Linked DNA regions of Homo sapiens: regions 1 and 3 are each linked to region 2. The links are contacts of gene promoters, found by promoter capture Hi-C in blood cells and fetal thymus (Javierre and others, 2016). All regions are on one chromosome and are shown on one strand. Each heading gives the region's core, a stretch centred on a gene start or on the middle of the fragment in contact. The rest is flanking DNA. Distances are from core to core; before and after follow the strand shown.

What was found. The method cuts DNA at HindIII sites, captures the fragments that hold promoters and counts their contacts. A CHiCAGO score of 5 or more calls a contact.
Region 1: a contact is called between a fragment that was not itself captured here and the fragment with the promoter of CCDC50 in region 2, in 1 of 17 cell types (endothelial precursors). The highest score is 6.4, in endothelial precursors.
Region 3: a contact is called between a fragment that was not itself captured here and the fragment with the promoter of CCDC50 in region 2, in 1 of 17 cell types (neutrophils). The highest score is 5.9, in neutrophils.

What each region holds. Positions count from the first base shown.
Region 1 is chr3:192,412,427-192,415,572 of GRCh38, forward strand. All of the region lies in intron 2 of FGF12 (fibroblast growth factor 12), which reads right to left. Among named protein-coding and RNA genes, the nearest start is that of FGF12-AS2, 100 kb to the right of the region's middle. The HindIII fragment of the contact is 1,754 bases long and covers 891-2,644 here.
Region 2 is chr3:191,327,521-191,330,643 of GRCh38, forward strand. CCDC50 (coiled-coil domain containing 50) reads left to right here and starts at 1,874. Exons shown (of 12, transcript NM_178335.3): 1 at 1,874-2,203. The coding sequence starts at 2,155. It overlaps UTS2B (urotensin 2B), which reads right to left and starts at 3,006. Exons shown (of 9, transcript NM_198152.5): 1 at 2,894-3,006; 2 at 1,111-1,189. RefSeq lists enhancers at 1,441-2,042, 2,043-2,643 and silencers at 1,570-1,649, 1,750-2,029. The HindIII fragment of the contact is 9,896 bases long and covers 1-3,123 here.
Region 3 is chr3:190,103,491-190,106,694 of GRCh38, forward strand. The region is part of intron 1 of P3H2 (prolyl 3-hydroxylase 2); the gene reads right to left. Among named protein-coding and RNA genes, the nearest start is that of P3H2, 16 kb to the right of the region's middle. The HindIII fragment of the contact is 4,214 bases long and covers 1-3,204 here.

The sequences.
Region 1 (3,146 bases), core at 518-3,017, 1.1 Mb after region 2:
GCATTTAAAGAACAGAACAAAAACAATGTCAGCTTTCTGGGAGCAACATTCTTTCTGTGTTTAGATCTCTATTAAAAGAATGTAGTGTTTTGGATTCAATCGGACAACAAAGACTACTTTTTCCCTCGCACTCCTGCAGCTATTGTCAGAGAGCTTTTTGGCTTTTTAAGTCATCATCAGCATAATTTACTCCATTTCCCCAGTGAGAAGAGGTGAGTATAAAGAAATTTAAGAAGTTAGCTAAGACCTAAATATATGGATATTGAGCTCAGAAGCAATGCTTAAATCAATTTATTTTATATATAGAAATTCGTAGGTTTCCTACCTGGGCCACTAAATCTCATAAGTCTTTCTCCACAGTTACTCGTACATTTCCAATATCTTTGCATTTTGGGATCAGGAATGAAATTAAGCCAACCTACTGATGATTTAGGTTAAACTAACAACCAGGTATTTAAAGGGTTATGTCCCAGGGATACCAATACTTTGATTTTTATGCTTTCTTTGAACAACTTAAGAATTTCTTATTCCTATTCTGAAGACATTATGAGTGGAAGAAGTTTTAATTACTTTGAAGAAAATTGTCAAATGCACATCAAAATGATAATTATGTAGTTATATTTAGTTATATATATATAGTCTATGTTTTTGGGCTCTAGTCAAACAAATAAAAACATGGGCAGTCTTAATTATCTCCACATTTTAAAAGGAAAAACAGAGGCTTTTTGGTCTTTTGCTTATTCATAGGCCAAGTCTTTCAACTTCCAAATCTACTATTAGGGCTAGTTTACACATTCATTTTAAACATTGCATTGTCCACAGATTACATCCAGGGCTCTGTCAGTTACCGTGAAATTCCAGACACTTCCACATTCTCTCTGCCCTCAACAAGCTTCCAGTTCATGACATTATGAACTTTCTTGGCTCTTGTTTTAATCGCCCACTAGCTGTATGCTGTTGGACACGTTATTCAACCTCTCTAAACTACATCTGCAAAATAGATACATAATAATACTAGCAGTACCTAACTAGGCTCTTGAAAGACTCAAAGAAGATGTGATAATAACGTAAAGTATGAGAATGACCATGCTGTTATTAAAATCTCCATTTAAATTAAGTCCCTGCCATAAAATACAGATTTCCTAAAACAGGAAAACACACCTTATGATTCATACACATCATCATTCACTCTTGGAATGTATTTAACAAAGGCTGAAAATTTACTTGAAATGAATGATTAACCTTGACATTGTCATGGCAAACAGAATTTCATTAGTGGAATATTGTCAGTGTCCTTGTCTTGAGAACACAAAGAAGTCTAGCTCTGCTCATACATCATCTTGCTCTGAGATCAGGCCCCTGACTCAAAGTCGGGTGAATATGAGCTCACTGGGCTCTGCCACAGCAAATGGAAGAAGACCTTTTCTCCATGAATTTTATTATATAAAGTAGCTGTATTTCCACTTGCTTTTTTCTGACATATTGTCAGTTACAGTAGGCTGACAAAAGCAATATAAAGAACTACTTTCTAATAATTTGTAAATTCCTTTATATAGCAAATTTATTCATGGTGCTTTATTCAACAATTCGACAACTGAATTACTACATGTTATATGTCCATCTGGTTTTGATCATCTTCCAAAACAGAAAAGAGAACAGATTTAATTCCTCTTTATGACATAGATGAAGGGTGGTATCATTGCCCAAAAAGGGAAATTTTCAATGTTCTGGAGAATAGGTATTTTGATAAGAAACATAGATGTAATTAATGTGAGCCAATGAGAAGTGCCCTACACACTTATAAGTGCATTACAATTATTGACACATTGAATCCTTACAACAACTCTATGAGGTAAGTTCTGTCATATCGCCATTTTATAAATGAAGAAACCAGGACAGAGAGGTTAAGTTGTTTAACCAAGGTCACCCAGCTAAGAATTGCCAGAGTTCAGATTCACACCCATATAATTTATTTCCAGAGTTTCCCTTTTACCTCTGTGCTATACGCATGTCAACAAAAACAAAACACCATGAATAATTACAATCATGTAATAAAGTCAATAAAATAAGAATGTGCAGATCACATACATTTATGTAACTCTTTACTAATTACAAATCATCTTCTCATGTATTATCTCACTGAGACTCTTCAACAATCTTATGATGGAAGCTAAAGGGAAAATAATAATTCAGTTTCACAAGCTGAGACTCCAATAAGTAATGTGATCGCCCAAGGTCATACAATCAATGAGTGAAGATCTATGAGTTTAATCCAGGCCTTTTAACCTCAATGTGACTACTGCCCTAACTAAAGTAACCTGGAGGGGAAAAATGAGAATGCCAAATGTACTTCCATTCACTAGCTTCTAACATGGTTTCACATCTTGTGAATGACCTTGAAGAGATCATTTTGTGTTGGAAGGGAGAGGAAACAAGTATCCCCAATTCTCTCCCCGTGAAGCTCTTTCCTTTTTCTAGATGAGGAAGCTACTCCTGGTTTTACTATTGTTGGCCAAGATAGGGTACTATGTTTTCTTTGGTTCTAGGAGGGTGGTCTTGAAACACTCTCCTTCTTAGTTTAGTAATTCAAGTCGAGCTCAATAAGAAAATCAAAGGGAAACTAAGTTAAAACAGAAAGTAAAGAAGCTTATAAGGGGAAAAATATAAATTTCCTCCATTTTCATTCCTTAAAAATGTACATTGGTTTGGCTTATACCACCTAGGAGATGGTTGATACTTGGTTATTTTCCTTCATAGCTGGGTTAAGGATGCTGAAAGACCTGTCACAACAGACCGCCCATCATTTTAGCCCTACTCTAAGTCCCACTGTCACTAACCCAGTGGCACCTTTTCCTTTTCAAAGAGAAACTCGGCTAGAAGATCCCTATTTGAATGTAATACCCATAAGGACAGGGCCATTGTCTATTTTGTTTACTTTCTTATCTCTAGTGCTTAAAATAATCTTTGCACATAGCCAGATACTCAAAAAATACTCAAATAAATGAATTAATTCATCAATCCATCCACCCAGATTTTTGAGCCAAATAGATGCATGGGTCATCCCAAAGTGAAGAATGGGGTATCAACTCTTTGTATCAGGAAATAAGCTCAGGTAACTCAAGGGTAGCCTCCACATTTCCAAAGTT
Region 2 (3,123 bases), core at 624-3,123:
TGAGAGCTGAGGCCATGGAAAAGAGGCCTCTACACAGGCCCTGTAGTCATAGAGGGACAGGACTGTGGCCAAAATTTTGGGTTAAAGGAAAGAAGAATACTCTGATATTTCTCTCCTCCCTTCTTTTGATTTTCTGCCAGTGCTTCCCATTGGTCAATCACAACAGGAAGCCACAGGTCAAAGGGGCCTAGTGATTTATCTGTAGGCATCCAAAGGCACGGCTTGGTAGAGAAGTAGAAACGATAGATTTGGGGAGGGAAACAGAAAATACTGCTGTTATAAATATTCTCTAGACCACAGGAAGTTAAAAAAAATTACTAGATTACAGGACAATTAAAAAATTCCCATAAATCTACCTTTCTAATACCACTTCCTTCTTATTCCCACATTTAACCTGCTGAGTGTTATCTCTGCCTAGCACTGGGGTGGGTAAACTTTTCCTGTAAAGCATATTTTAGACTTTGAGGCTTAAGAGGCAAGGTCGAAAATATTATGTCCTATTTATGTAGTGATTTGAAATGTAATTATTTGAACATATAAAAAACAGTCATTCAAATTCAGTGGCGTAGATTTGGCCTGTGGGCTATACTTTGCTACCCTCTGGCCTTGAAAGTCTTCTAAATTTTTGCTAGCCTAAAATCCACCTACTTTTCAATGTCAAGTTCAAATAAAACCTCCCCTACGTGGCCTCTCATACTGGGACTCTGAGCTGTGAGTGACAGAAAATCAACTATTACTAGCTTAAGCAAAACTGAGGATAAGTTGAGAGTTTGCGGGTTGTAGATCCCAGAATCCAGGAGTTGCTGAAATGCCAGCTGCTCTGGGGATATCCTGCTTTGCTACTGTGGTAACATCAGAACATGCCCTCTTCATCTCCCTTTCTCTTCTCTTTGCTTCTGTCTTCAGTTTGGCCTCATCATCTCCTAGAGGCAGATCTTTTCCACAAGAAACAGAATATGTAACTCTTTATGTACCCAGGAAAGTATTCTGTTTGACCTGTCTTGGTCACCCAGCCACCCTTCGATGAACCCATGTCGGTGGAGGAAGGGGGAAGAGTGATGGGGTAGTCTCGAGGTTCAGACATGGCACACGTTTGGGAGAGAAGCTCACCTCTGAGGAGTGGGGAAAGAGGCAGTTTCCCAAAAGGAGGATGCATTCTGTTGCCAGGAGATGAAACAGGAGAGGTTGTCTATTTTAGAGAGATAGAAATGTCACAATTACAATCCAATGTGTGCAGCGCTATAACAGAGATAAGTCTGACGCCTCGTTATCACCCACAGTACCTAACATCACACTTGGTAGACACATTCATGCGATTTTGATGAATGAATGACTCAGTTCTCCCAGCTGATTGTGTACACACTCTACTCCAAACTGGCCCAGAATTTTATCAGCTGCTCTTCATTCTGTACGTTGTATTTGGGGTTTTTATGGCCATCTACCATCTCTCCTCTAATTCCGGGTGCAAAAAGAGTGTATGAGAGAGAGGCAAGCATGCAGTAAACATCCTGTGTTAATCTCAATCCCAGAACCAGACCACAGAATGCTGACTACACCGCTCACGGGAAAGACTATGTTTTAGGTGACCCGTGTGGCCTTTTTGTTGAGGCCTTTAGGATACAAGGCCCCCACCTAAAGACGCGACCCTCCCGTAGGAGGGGGGCAGGGCCCGGGGGCGGGAGCACAGCGGGGCCCCAGCCTCAGGCGGCGCGTCACTGAGCACAAAGGAGACAACAGCGAGGCGGCAGCGGGCGCTGATCTTCGCTCGCCAGCCACTCGCAATTGCGGTTACAGACCTGCAGCTCCCCCTCCCCCAGCCGGCCCGCCCGCCTTTCTGTCTCCTCTCTCCCTCCGTACTGGACGGCCCCGGTCCATTTCCGGGCTCCGGATATTTGGTATCGATTGGGGCCGGGGACGCGGAGCAGGTGGCCGCGGCGGGGCAGCTGGGCCGCCAGCTTGGTGCCTCGGGGACCGTCTCCCGCTGCTTTGGTCACCAGCCCCTGCCCGCCCGACCCGCTCCGTTCTCCGGCCTGCGAGCCCTGCCGGCCGGACTTTGCGCCGCGTCCGGCGCTGCTGCTGCGCTCGGGGCCCCGCTCGGCGCCGGCGGTGACCGGGAAGCCCGCGTTAAAGGGGCAACCGGGACCCTGGCCCGGTATGGCTGAAGTCAGCATCGACCAGTCCAAGCTGCCTGGAGTCAAGGAAGGTAAGGGCCCCGGAGGGAGAGCGCGCGGGACCCTCCCCTCTCCCAGCCCGAGGTTCTCTCAGGTCAGGGGCGTTGCCATTTCGGCTCCCGCGGCCCTCGCCCGGTGCCCGCCCTGCGTTGGCCTTGCCCGGACGTGAAAGGAATTGAATTCAGGTTCTAGTGTGGGACGTTGGGCAAGTCTCCGACGTTCCAAGCCCGTTTTTTCTCAAGGGGGTGGTTGGGGGGGGGGGGGGCTAGCAGCAGCCCCAGCAAGTAGGTGGCTGTGCCCGTGTTCTCGTGCATCGCAAAGCCTCAGTGGACGCTGAGAGCCGGGTGAATCTGACTTACTCCGCTTCTAAAAAATCGAGGCCCAGCCTGGCTGGCTTGAAGGCTGGGAAGTGGAGAGGGGTTGACATTCAGTTCCGTGTGGAGCCTTTGTTTTGAAACATGACTCTTTCCCTCCTTCTCTCCCTACTTTTCCTAGGCCGGCGTCTGGCTGGCTGACTTTCCCACCTTCCTCAAGGTTTAAAAGTTTAGTCTTGGCTGTGTTCTGCGCGGGCGGGAAGCCACTATAAGCATTTTCTTACAAACAAAACACACACACACACACACACACACACACACACAATAGTGAGCGAGGGGAACAGGGGACTGATGGCCTTGTCATTGCTTTTTGTACCAATGTCCAGGAAAGTAGAGATTAGTACTGACCTGGCTTTAGCTGACAGCAAGTAGCCTTTTGACTTCCCTTCTCTTGTTTTTCCACTAGCTGCCTCAGGACCTAGCTTTTTTTTGCTGAGATCTTAGGTGCTGGATCGCCTTATGCCTTGAGTTATCTTTGTTTATTCTTTGGTCCTAGGAAGCATAGACGTTCCAGAGTGCTGACGCAGACCCCTAAGTTCCAAGGGCTTTGCAAAATCGGCTTCTGTTGTGAATGTCAT
Region 3 (3,204 bases), core at 64-2,563, 1.2 Mb before region 2:
CTTTGTTAACTATCTTATTGGGAAAGTGGACCAGGATGATCAAATCTGTATTTATTTATGAAGAGTTAAATCACAGTGTTCTAGAGGAGCTCATCTACAGACATATAAACAAGTGAAAGGGCAGGCTGGTGGCAAGGCTGAAAGAGCACTGGGACTTTTCCATACTTCTAAAGCAGAGGTAGGAAAGAATACTCAACAACTTGACATGAACTATAGCACAATCCGGTTCACCGACTTATGGTTAATTTAGTAGTGGTGACAAAGTTGACTTAGAGATTTTTATTCAACATTAGAAAAGTTTTTCAGTAGCTTTTTTTTTTCAATGAAGTCTTGCTCTGTCACCTAGGCTGGGGTGCAGTGGTGCGATCTCGGCTCACTGCAACCTCTGCCTCCCAGGTTCAACCGATTCTCGTGCCTCAGCCTCCCAAGTAGCTGGGATTACAGGTGCCCGCCACCACATCTGGCTAATTTTTGTATTTTTAGTAGAGACGGGACTTCACTATGTTGGCCAGGCTGGTCTTGAACTCATGACCTCAAGTGATCTGCCAGCCTCGGCTTCCCAAAGTGCTGGAATTGCAGGAGTGAGCCACTGCACCCTGCCTTCAGTAGCTTTTTGTGGTAAAGTATTGGTAACAAAACTCTGCTAGAGATCTGAAATCATATCCATTCCAAATTATATTCATCATCATCATCATTCAAAGATCATTTAGAAAGCATGCTCTCTCTAGTCAAAGGATTAGGCATAGCAGAACAGAAATATTAGTGATAATATCTATCCTACTCCAGCCAAACAGCATGGGGCAAAAACCACGGCTCAATTCACCTTTATGTCAGCTGGTCCGAGACAGCATGGACTTCCACCCACTCCCCTCCACTCCAGTGATGGTATCAGGGCACTCCTCCCGCTCCCAACTAGAGAGTGAGGGAAGAACTTCAAAGAGGAGGGAGCTGGATAAAGGGATTATTTAAATATTATTATAAAATATTTAATATTTTAATACCCTTTAAATTTCTTTAACAGTATCAAAGTTTGAGAAATGAACTACAGTGTAGAACACCACCAGGTTTAAAGATTGGCCTCTGGACAGTACATACAGGAAGCAAATCAGAATAGGATTGCAAAGCCTCTATAAATGAAATTGCTTTTACTTAGTATATCACGATATATTCGCTCAGAGAAGCATACCTACTTTCAATTCCTAGCACGGATGTCCTGATCAGTTGTAATAAATTTAACTTAAAACCCCCAGTGGTACTATGTAACCACAACTAAATCCATCTCAGATGTCATCTCATGGAGACAAGAGTCGGAAATCAGAGGACTGATGCCAATCATGCATGTGGATATTATTACTGCTAAATATTCCATGCATGTGTGTTCTGGCATGTGTGTCTTAGGGCCTTGGTACTGTTTTTTCCTCTTTTCTTTTTTGCATTATGTAACTATTTATAGGGAGTAGGCTGGCAACCATGGCCTAAAATACATTAACTAGAATTCAAAAGGAAGCTAGAAAACTGTATGCCTTTTTCAATGAAAAAGACTTTAATGATCCTTTCTGTGAGTACAAGAGAAATTTTCATTTCACAAAATCATGGAGTCTTATAGACTTTGGATTGGAAAATATTTTAAATCTCATTCATTTCAACATCACTCTGGTGCTTGCACCTTAAATACAACCTCTACATTAGGTATTTGTTTGACTCACGTTTGAACACCTTCTAGGGCTTCCTATTAGATCTCAGAATAGTGTGAGGAAAGTCTTTCACATTTGAGCCGAGATCTTGTTTTCTGTAATTTCTGTTATTTGGTCCTAGTGCTTCAATTCTTCAGTGCCATAAAGATCAGGAACAATCGCCTCAAATGATAATCTTTTTTGAAACTGCAAAAGGAGATTTTTTGTTGTTGTTGCTTGTCTTTTCTTCATTAGCTTACTCATCCTCTATATCAGCTGTTTCTCATATATGGTTTTGAGCCTTTTATCTATCTTCTTTGTCTCTCTTGAACATTGCCTAGTTTATTCTGTCCTCTTAAATTACCATTAAATTAAATATTTGTGTAACTTCCTTTCAAGTTTTACTTTAAAGGGATTCACTGCCCCAAGATGAGGACCAGCATTAGATACACTGGAAGTAATTCCTTTCCTGTAAACTTTTAAACTAATTTATGTCCATTGCATTTTATATTCCATTATTTTATAATCTCATCAGTTTTCTGTTTCCACAGGTAGACTGTTGGCTTGCTGTACCAATCCACTAAAGTATTTTAGCATCTCAAGCTGGCAGATGCAGAAGAGCTCTTATTAAGTAACTGGCCCAATGCTGCCCTAGTCCAAATGCAAACCCCAAGGACTAGAGAAAGCCATTTATGACAGAGCTGGGTGTAGAGATTAAATTGCTTGATTCCTAGACTTGTAACCCTCTACTACTTTTTGTGAGCTACTCTCCCATTTACCTGACTGCTAAACAAAAAGCAGTTTCATTTTGGTGTCTATGATGAAGAAATGTTTGTTGATTCTCAAACTTAAGTCATCTCCCATGGGTACAAGAAATCAGGGTAGGAAGGAGGCTTAAAGAGGTTTAAAATTCCCAAGATGTGTCTGTGGGAAGAGATTTTATCTATTAATATGAAACAGAGAAGATTTGGAATGTGTTTGAACAGAGTCCATTTAAAAAAAATACAAAGAAGAGGACACAATCTCAAGGAAATTGTGAAATCAGAGAATGGGAGAATTTAATGGGGAAGAAAGAAAAGAACATTTCTTAACATAGCAAATGAACAGCCTCGAATTTCCATTAAGAGGATGATTTTTGTTTTATCTTGATGGTGGAGAGGCAGGTAAGTCTGTGCTACAGTGCGCAGTGTTGAACGTGAAGCCAGTTACTCAGATTGAATGGGTCAAGCACCTGTTTTATATGTCCCCTAGTGTTCTGTACCTGTTATAGATGTAATTATTTTCTCCACTTACCATGATATATTTGCCTAAATATTCTTTTGCCCTTTATATTCCCTTAGAAATTCACCATCTGCCTAGAAACTATGAGGCAAGGAACAATCTTTTTTTTTTTTAACTTCTCACAAGTACCTTGTAAAATAGGTATGATTATTGTCATTTTCCCGATACAAAATTCTGATTCACGTAGACAAGTTTCATACAGTCTCAAACAACCGATATGTCAGAACTTTTTTTGACTATATACCTGTTT